3 separate regions of the Homo sapiens genome follow, and all the other regions are linked to region 1. Evidence: promoter capture Hi-C in 16 types of primary human blood cells and fetal thymus (Javierre and others, 2016). All regions are on one chromosome and are shown on one strand. The core of a region is centred on a gene start or on the middle of the fragment in contact, and the rest is flanking DNA. Distances in the headings are between cores, read along the strand shown.

Region 1 (3,239 bases), core at 440-2,939:
GCACTCTAAGTTCTATTTTAGAACTTGTATTTCTGTGATTTCACTTCCTGAAGCTGCATTTACCAAAGGCATTCTGTCAACTCAGAGTGGGAAAGGTGGTGGGGCTAGTGAGTCAGAGAAGATGCTGGTGTTGAGCCTTAAGAAGTCAAGAGATGGACAAACTGAGATTATTCTGTACTCTGAGATTCTTGACGTCAACAAGGCCCCTGATCTCCGTGTATGGCCTTTCCTCTTCCAGGGCACCTCTCCCCAGCATGTACCCTTAGCTGTTTCTTTCTACCCTCATTTCAGGGTAGCTCTTAGCCAGTAGGCAAAACGAAGGGTTTCTGGATCAATGAGTTGATTCTGTACATTCTTTGAGACATCCTAATGAAGTTACACCTTTTAGTACAGTGGTCTAATAGGAATATCACTTACAAGAATAAGGTACATTATTCCTGGGTATAGATAAGTCCTACATACGAAAAATGATATGGTCACACTGGAGAAGATACAGATCTACTTTAAAAAAAAACAGCTTTGGAGATGTAATCTGAATGCAAATATTATCAAAAAGAGATAGGCTAATTAATCTAGAAAACATTATGTCACCAAGAAAGGCAGAGTAAGATTTCAACTCACTTGCTCAAAATTGTAGATGTCTACTAACCAGCTAAAACTTTTCGCTTTTTAACACTGAAAGCAGCTACTAAAAGGTGTCAAAAATCCTAGTCCTCAGGAAATTAAATAGAAACATTTTTTGAATGGCTTAAGTGCAGACCCAGAGGGATACACCAAGTAGGAGCAAAGCTCCTCCCAGCTCTCACTCAAAGCCTGGCCATTTTCAAGGCTGTGCCTGATGAACTTTATCATCAGTGAAGTGTTTTCAGTTTATATTTCTTTTCTCTAAGTTTATGACCTACAACTACCAACTTCTTCAAATGCATCACGTAAAAAGTAGAGCAACTTCTTTAAAGAGTAATGGTTTGCTTTGTCGTACTGCAATAGTCGGTAAGAATGTTCTAAGCTTCTAAATATCCCATTCTGGAAGCTTTAGCTGAATGTTAAGCAAAACTTCAGATTAAGTTCTTTTTCTTTCCGACCCGAGTCCCTAGGAAAGTACGTGGGCTTGGAGATTTATTCAACACACACTTAATGAGCTCCAAGGCCCCGGTCCACAAGCTTCTTTCCGACAAGGGGACTGGCAATCTGACTGCACTGCATGGTAACAGGAACGGGTAACAGTGGCTTTGACATGCAGCTCAAAACCACTTGCCCAGAACTTTCAGGCCTTTCCATGTAACACGCACGATTTTACAGAAGTGCTTTCTCCAGGCTGCACCCGCCAAACCTGACGCCAAAAGACTCATTGCGAAGTGCAGCGAGGTCTCGGCGGAGGACCTGACACTGAGCGTGCGCAGGCAGGAGCAGCCGACCGAAGAGACCGCCACAGAGGGCACAGGGCAGAGGCACCCTCATGGCCCGGCTCCGGGGAGCGGACGCCGCGCGCACCTTCATGAACTCGTCCTTGTCGAAGCAGAGCGTGTCCGGCCCCTTGGGCAGGTTCATCCTACTTTTCTCCATCCCGCCGGCCACCGCCTCTCAGTGCCAAGATCCAAGCGAGAAAACGCAGGAGGCTGCGCAGACCGACTCGGCGGCCGCGGCCACCGCCAGTTTCCACGGCACAGGGGGGTCCGCTTCCGCCAACATGGCAGCGCCCGCGCCGCGGCCAATGAACGACGGCACCGCAAGCCGGCCTGCGCCTGGCTCTGGCCAAGAGGGGCGCGGGGGCCGCCGCTGCTGCACGGGTAGGCCGTGCTGCCCTCATGTGGCGGAGGGCGGTACTGCAGCCTCGCGCGGGCTCCTGCAAGGCTGCCCACCTCCCTAGGAGGCGTGGCTGAGCTGCAGGGGTGGGTCAAAAGGGGTGAGCGGGTCTCCCTCCCACCCCCACCGTTTCTACTGGGAAAAATTGTCCTACAACGCTTTTCCAGTGCCTTCTACCCTGAGACTGCTCTGCTTCGTTATGCATGGCCAGAAGTTGGCCCTTTGGTTCTCAGGCCCGTTTTCCAGGTTGGACGTATCACCGTGGTCGCATTCTTCACCTCCCTGTGCGCGGTCACTGCCGCTGGTGGGCGCTAACGCCTCTATGGAGACCCCCGCCCTTAGCCTCTGTCCCCACAGAGAAGTGTAGCGTCTCCTCCACTGGGCTCCGTTACTGGGAACTCATAGGGAAGAAGGTGGTCAGCTAGGCGGCTTTGGGTCCTCTGAGTAGCTCCCTGCTCAACCTCGGTCTCCGTTCCAGGTGGGCAGCCTCTGAGCGCAACTTTGGGTCTTCAAGGTGCTTAAAGGAGTGCCTCGCTATCTGATTAAACACAGCAGACAAATACATGTGCATGCACATTTATTTTTAATTTCAACCAGGAATGGACAAATTTTTGTGTTGTGGCCAGTACTGGTGCAACCAAACCAATTTCTTAGACTGTCTTCCTCCTCCTCCCCCCACCCACCCCAATTTTATTCTGAGACGTTCTTCCTTTATCTCCTCCCTTGCTTTTTTCTCCTCTTGTCCCTTCCGCTAGCTGTAAATACCGTGGTCAAATGATGATGATTCATTTTTCTTCTTTTCTCCTTGACATTCGGATGATTCAAACCACAAACCTCACTTCACACTCTTCATTCTGCAAACCTTTCCTTCCCGCTTCTGTTGAGGAATCTAGGCCTCTCTTCCCAATTTTTCTCCTTGGAGATAAGATTAACGCCATGATGGCCTGTAAAAAGGAATGGGACAGCAGAGGGTAAGACCTCACCATGAGACTTTGTATTTCAAGTATCTCAACTAGAAAACTGGTCACTTAAAAAAAAATGTAGGCGTAGAATCCAAAACGCTCTACTCCCTAGCACTGGACCTAGCAGGCCCTGTTGAAGAGCCTATTTCCTGCCAGTATCTACAGAACAGATGAACAGGATAAGAGCCGGAAGCTAGCTGGAGGATCAAAATATTCTGCCAGAGGAGCGATTGGGAAAAGTACATCCTAAGTCCCTGTTATGTTTGTTTTGCTGGAGGAAATGAAAACCTCATTTTCTGTTTAATTTTTTGTTTTCTCTTGTTATGAAAATTTTCAAGTACACAGAAGTGTGGAGAGCACAAGAACCCCACCCTATGTACTTAGCACCTCGCTTCAACCATCATCAACCTGTCTCCTCTGCCCTTCCCCACCCACCGCATCGAGACCTTCTTTTTTTGTTGTTTTATATATATA
Region 2 (3,239 bases), core at 524-3,023, 1.9 Mb after region 1:
TTCAGGGTTTATCATACAATTCTAGTGTGTTTTGAGAACATGTGCAAACACAGGCTGCCCGCATTGTCCTGTTTAAGAAATGAGGGCACTCCTTATCTCTATGTCAGGTCAAAAGGAGGATTAAAAAAGAAAAAAGAAAGCCATGGCCCCCTTTCCACTGGGATCCGGGGACTCGGGGAGTGTGGAGAGGCCTGCAGCAGGACATGTTGTGGAGGTTTCTATTTTAATTAAGCAGTCAGTTTTGTCTCTTTCTACACAACTTTCTAATTGTTTCTAAATATTTATACTAGTCAGCTGCAGGGGTGGGGTGGGGGGAGGGGAAGAAACAATACCCTGCGGTGGGAACCCACCAGTACAGCACCCATTTCTCTAAGGTACCTTTGGGATGAAAGGAAGGTCAGAGAAGCAATTTTTTTTTAAAGAAGCAAGACAGTTAAGTGTTTCATACTAGTTTCTGTGAATTTTAACTTTTTCTTAAATTTCAAAAAGACCTGAATAGCAAGATAGAGAATTCCTTTCTCTTTGTATCTACCAAGGGAAATGGCATCGCACCCGGTACATAGGAGCTTTAAGTAGCTTAAAGGGATCCTGAAAAGATACCAACAATCAGAATCCGAGCCCATGTGGGCAGGGAAGGTGGTGGGGCTCAGAAGAAAGAAATGGTGTTTACTCTTCAGGTTTCATCCAAACCTAAGCCTTCACGAGGGCCGCTCGCGCTTTTTCACTAAATCAAGTGTTTTCCCGGCGTCTCCGCGGCTCTTTAAAGCGGAGACGCCCCTTGTGAGCTGAGCCGCCTAAAAGCAAAGGAGCGACGCTCAGGTAAAGGCACCTGCGCGTCACCTTCTGATTGAAACTCTGCAGCGGCGCCAGCGACGTCGCCCTCAGGAAACTTTGCTCTATGCAACAAACTGACCGGGCACCCTGAACTCAACCTGTTTCACTCCTACTTATCTGTTGCTTAAATTGTGAGATTTTTTTTTTTTTTTTTTTTGGCAAGGCTCTGACTGCCGCTCCGCCCTCCTCTCTCCAAGCCCACTCCGCCGTGGTCCTTTCGTGTTAGCTCCGCGCTTGCCCGGTCCCTGAGACTCAGGAAACGTCCTGCACTCCTCATTTGTCCGGCTTCCCAGCTGGAGCCGCGCCCGGGGCCCTGCAGCCCCCTTGGGAACCTCGCGACCCTCGCGCCACCTTCCTTCCCCTGGGTGGACCGCGGCCACGCGCCCCCGGCCCCGGCCCCCCGGCCAGCTCACCGGAGAAGTTGTCGAAGGCAGTAGGGATGTACTCGGTGGGGTAGCCGTTGGTGGTGTAGCTCACCACCAGGCTCGTCTTGCCCACCGCGCCGTCGCCGACCAGCACGCACTTGACGCCGCGCCCCTCGGCACCCCCCGCACGCCCCCGGCCCCCCGGCTCCCCAGGCCCGCGTCCCCCGCGTCCACCGCGCTCCCGACGCGGCGGCACCGGAGGCGCCTCGCAGCGGTCGGGGAACGCGGGGTCCCCCTGCTGCGGGGGCATCGATCCGCGAGCGCGGGCTTGCGGTCGCGGGCTAGCAGGGCCCGGCCCGACCGCCCCTCCGCCCCGGAGGGTTGCGGTAGGGAGGAGCTGTCACCGACAGCTGCGGGCGCGTCCCCGGCCCTGGAGAGTGGCGGTTCCGGGCCGCACGGCCAGTAGACAAAGGCGGCCAGGGAGGGTCGTGGCTCCGCGCTCCGGCGGCGCCAGCCGCTCTGCCCTGCGCTGTTGGAGGACAGCGGTCCGAGCGCCGTGGATCCCAAGCGCTCTGTCTCCGCCCGGCTTCCCGGCGACACGACGCGTGGGGGGCGGGCAGGCGGGCGGGCTGGCGGGGAGGGAAAAGAGGCGGGTCTGGCCGAGCGGCTCGGTCCCCGCGCCAAGACCACAGCGCCCCCCGCCTGCGCGCCGCGCGCCTGCACCCGCGCCCGAGGCGCCGCCGCGACCAGGCGGGGACTGCGAACACTGGCGCGGGAGGACCTGGAACACACGTTCCGGGGGACCCCGCGCACCCGGTCCGGGAAGCGACGCCCGAAGGAGCCGGGCCAGCCTCCGCAGCCTCCTCCCCAGCTCCCAAGAGGGTGACCACCGCGCGACTGGCCCGGGAGGTTCCGCTTTCTGGCGCCCACGCGAGCCAGGAAGCCTGAGCCGCCTCCTATTCACTCCGTGGAGCCCCCGGCTGGCCACGGCTCCACCCAGGGGGAAAAATGAAGTGTCCTGGAGGCCTGTCCTGCGAATGAGATTGAATTAACAGACAGCTTTTTTCCTTAAGTCTAACTGCAGCTGATCGTGTGATTTTTTCTCATTTTGAAGCAAAAGGATGCCAGCTCCATTGTGAATGCTCCTTTGACTTTGTCTTTCGGCATGCCGTGAACCTTTATACATGTATGCTCCAGAAATTTTTTTATACCCCCAATTCCTTCATTTACTTAAAGGTAATTCGGAGACATTAATATGTCTGAAAAAATATTCCGTTTCCCTTTGATTCATTTCTCTCTCTGCCTTCCTTCTACATGTGGTCAACAGTCTATTCAGAAAAAGGACGCCTCTTAGCCAAGTCAGAATACCAAGAGTCCTGGGGGTGTACAGCGTGGTGTGAGAAGGGCCACATATTATTAATACACATTGATACTAGTGGTAGTAAAAATAACAATAACAAATACTGAACTTTCATAATGTGTCAGATACTGTTGTAAGCACTCTTCAAGAACTAATTCTTTTAATCTTAACATTACTTACAGATGAGAACACCTGAGGCACAGAGATATTAAGTAACGTTTTGGGATTCCACAAGCTAGTAAGTGGCAATGCCAGGATCCAAACCCAAATAGTCTAGCCCCAGAGCCTGAGCTTCTAACCAAAATCCTGGAGGCAAAAATAAGTCAGTATGATAAACGTAATCTTGAACGTATGGCCATGGTCAGAATGCAGAGATGGATTTATCAAGAAGTTAGAAGCTTGAATCCAGGACCCCTGACTTGCAAAGGACACTTTCACATTGGAAGACCTAGCAATGTGTACACGTGGTAATATGTTTCTGTAAATTTTGAAAAAAAAAAAAGTATTTTAATCACCACCAGTTATGTTCACTGTCTTTTTAAACTGTAACTTACCCTCATATTGAGTGACTTTGAAGAGGCCATGAAGATTTTGGGGATCAGCCAAAGAAAGTGAAGTTGGGGAGACCCAAACAGGTTGTTTGGGTGTAATGGGATACAGAATCAGGATGAAGGTGAGAT
Region 3 (3,239 bases), core at 186-2,685, 1.0 Mb after region 1:
GGGCTGGAACAACTGGAGCAACCTCAGCTGGTGCTAGTTTGGGATATTTATTCAATCTTACCAAATAAGTGAAACAAAAAAATAGGAAAGATTCAGTCATTAAGTCATTCTTCCTGATGGGGGTGGGGGGTATCACAAAGTGCAAGTGTTAAATGCAAAACATAATGTATGTATAATATATATACACACACATATCTGTATATCTATATATATCTATCTGTATAGATAGATAGATAGATAGATAGATAGATAGATAGATAGATAGATAGATGATGATGAATGAAAAGAAGTTCTGCTCACCCGAACAGGCATTGATGGCTTGGGTTGAGATTTCCAGCAGGAGTATATGGATTTAAGACGTGCTTTATTGTAACTGATTTAGTAGATGGGAAAGGTAAAGTGCTCTGGAAATGGAATTTGATGATTCATAGTGGCTTAATTCATCACAGACACTGGTGTTTAAGATATTCATGAACAGTTGGAGTGAATTTCTTTAGTGAATTAATATATTGCCTTATATATTTTAGATATGTGTAAATTAATAGAGATTATAGTTAGACATTTGATTTTCATCTGTAACCCTCAGAGTTTCTCTTTTTTTAAATTAAAGTTGACTAAAATGTTTTCTTTTTAATTTTCTTATTGGTATGGTAAGGTAGTCATAGGTTTGGGCTTACCTTTTAGTTGGACATTTTACAGAAAGAAATTAGCTGCTGTTTCTCCACTGAAGCAAATTGTCTTTTTCCTTCCTATTTTTTAATTTACAGAAGATTTGAAGAGTGTTGTATATTGTCAGTGTTTAGAAAACACTATAAAATACTTCCATTTATAATTGTTTAGTAGTCAAAGAAGATATCCTCCCAGTAAGGTGTATCAAGGTGGATGGGTATGTTAATAACTTCACAATGTTTGGCAATAATAAAAGGTAGCTGTGTTTTTAAAACAAAATACTAACTTTTGGAGACTTTGTCATTAGTAAGCAGAAGTGTTATGCAAAACTTTGTGAATTAACTTTTTTAAGCCAAGATGCTGATGCATTAGTTTCACCAGGTAATGTCATTCTGTAGAACTCTGTTGTCCAATACAGTAATCATTGGCCACTTATGACTACTTAAATTAAAATTAGTTAAAACAATTCAGTTCCTTAGTTGCACTAGTCATATTTTCATTGCCCAATTGCCCTGTGTGGCCAGTGACTACTGTTGTGAACAGTGCAGACTTACAACACCTCCGTCGTTTGCCAAAAGTCCTCTTGGACAGTACTGCTCTGGAATGAAAAATTGAAGATCATTCCATCCACTTTGAGACACACACACACACACACACACACACATAAATGTTTTAATGAAGCGTCTTCAAATCCTCATGTACTGCATTTGAATTCAGTTTCAGGAACAGTGATAAGCATGGGAAAACGTCTTATCCCTTATTTTGAGAACAGGACATCCTATTTCTGTCTGCAGTGGTGTTTGCAAATAGAGCATTTGTGAAAGTTTTCTTTATGTAGTCAAGCATAGTAAGTAATGTAAAGAGCCATTCTGTAGATTGTGCCACACTCTTCCATGTTAATAAGATTTTGTATAGAAAAGCAGTTTTTCTGTGCTGTAAAACAGTATTAAAGTAGAAATTCAAAAAGATCACGAGCTTAAAATAAACTCTCAAGAATTCCAAGAAGCTAGATAGCACTCACGTTATTTTTATGATGAGTTTCAAAGATAAGGCCTGTCCTCAGGGAACTCTCCATCTGTTTAGGGGAACTGAGGAAGAGTGATGGCAAGAGGGGACAACCTGCATGAGGGTTGGGGTGATTTAGGCTTGGTTGTAACATCATTAGATTTGTCATGTACTTTGGCTGCTTTTCAAAGGGCCATATGAGGAGGGCCTAAAGGTGGAAGAATATTGGAATAGTCCAGTTGAGAAGTGATTTGTAGAGTCGGGCATAGTGGCATACACCTGTAATCCTAGCTACCTGGGAGGCTGAGCTGGGAGGATCATGAGCCCAGAGGATGGAGACCAGCCTGGGCAATATAGCCAGACCACTTCTCTAAAGAGAGCGAGAAGCAATTTGTGCTGTCAAATAGCAAACAGTCAAGATGGGGTAGCAGAAATGGTTGAGTTGCACTAGCCGCAATTTTTTTTTTTTAAGTTGAGAGAGAATTCCCATTTAGAATAGGAGTTGGTGGCCTCTTTGAAGTAAGGGAGAGAGAGAACAGAATTTTATCATGACTGGCTTTTTGGTTGTTTTGTTTTCTTTTGTTTTGTTTTTGCTTTAATGGTGGATAGTGGCACCATTAAGCCGGCTAAGAAAACCGGGAGAAGGAAGAGGTATTGCAGGTGGAAATGTCTGTTAATTGACTGAGTTGAGGAAGGTGGTCTGACTGTAAGTCTTGCATGGTGGTGTGGTGAAGCCGGGAATGTGAAGAAGCAGTGGCAGACAGTAATGGGAGGGCAGAGCCACAAGAGAGGCTTGCAGTGGGAGGGACCAAGAGAGTTTCAAGTAGGAGGTGAGTTCAGCAGCATCACATCCAGCTGAGAGATCGTGAAGGGTGGTGCTGGAAAGTGACTGGTTAGATCAAAAAGTTAAGGAATCCCAAGTCTCAGTAGCCCACTGAGGTCAGAAGCAGGGTCAGCTGGCTGGGTGAGGAGACTGGTGAAGGTTTAGAATAGCGTAGGTGGAAGGCTGTAGGGTAAGTAGTTGATGAAACAAGACTTCTGGAACATCATGGAGGTCCCAGCTGATGTTGGAGAAAATCTACTTCTCATGACATCTGTTTGCTGGATTTCGTGATTTCCACCTACTTTCTACCACTGCTGCCATCCCCACCAAAACGCCACATTCTTCACTGCGTCCTGAGCCCAGCTACGGCCTTATCCATGTGCCATTTTATTTCTTAGGACACCATGGGAAAAAACACAGCTTCTAGTTCAAGTGTATTTATGTCAGTCTGAGCAAAGATTGAATATGAAAGGCTATCATAATTTTTAAATTATATGAGGTATGACTGAAACTGAAAGTAGTATGGCTCATTTATTTTTCAGTTGTGATTTATATTTTCACAAAGCTTATTGAATACACTTTATCATGATGATTAATGCAAAGCTAGGGCTTTAGGTCCTACTTAGACTGATCTTTTGATGTTACAACCATTTAGTTGCTGTGAGTGAAGAGAACTAATAACTTGAGTTACCTAGTAGACACTTTACAAAAAAATGCAAAAAAATAATTTTTTTCTTCTGTT

What was found. The method cuts DNA at HindIII sites, captures the fragments that hold promoters and counts their contacts. A CHiCAGO score of 5 or more calls a contact.
Region 2: a contact is called between the fragment with the promoter of RHOU here and the fragment with the promoter of COG2 in region 1, in 3 of 17 cell types (monocytes, neutrophils and fetal thymus). The highest score is 8.4, in monocytes.
Region 3: a contact is called between a fragment that was not itself captured here and the fragment with the promoter of COG2 in region 1, in 3 of 17 cell types (total CD8 T cells, naive CD4 T cells and total CD4 T cells). The highest score is 7.5, in total CD8 T cells.

The regions. Positions count from the first base shown.
Region 1 is chr1:230,640,931-230,644,169 of GRCh38, reverse strand. It overlaps COG2 (component of oligomeric golgi complex 2), which reads right to left and starts at 1,689. Exons shown (of 18, transcript NM_007357.3): 1 at 1,492-1,689. The coding sequence starts at 1,563. RefSeq lists silencers at 23-142, 1,756-1,895 and an enhancer at 1,446-1,665. The HindIII fragment of the contact is 12,366 bases long and covers 1,164-3,239 here.
Region 2 is chr1:228,734,013-228,737,251 of GRCh38, reverse strand. It overlaps RHOU (ras homolog family member U), which reads right to left and starts at 1,773. Exons shown (of 3, transcript NM_021205.6): 1 at 1,248-1,773. The coding sequence starts at 1,509. The HindIII fragment of the contact is 4,915 bases long and covers 1-2,959 here.
Region 3 is chr1:229,619,051-229,622,289 of GRCh38, reverse strand. All of the region lies in intron 1 of TAF5L (TATA-box binding protein associated factor 5 like), which reads left to right. Among named protein-coding and RNA genes, the nearest start is that of TAF5L, 5.5 kb to the left of the region's middle. The HindIII fragment of the contact is 3,259 bases long and covers 1-3,064 here.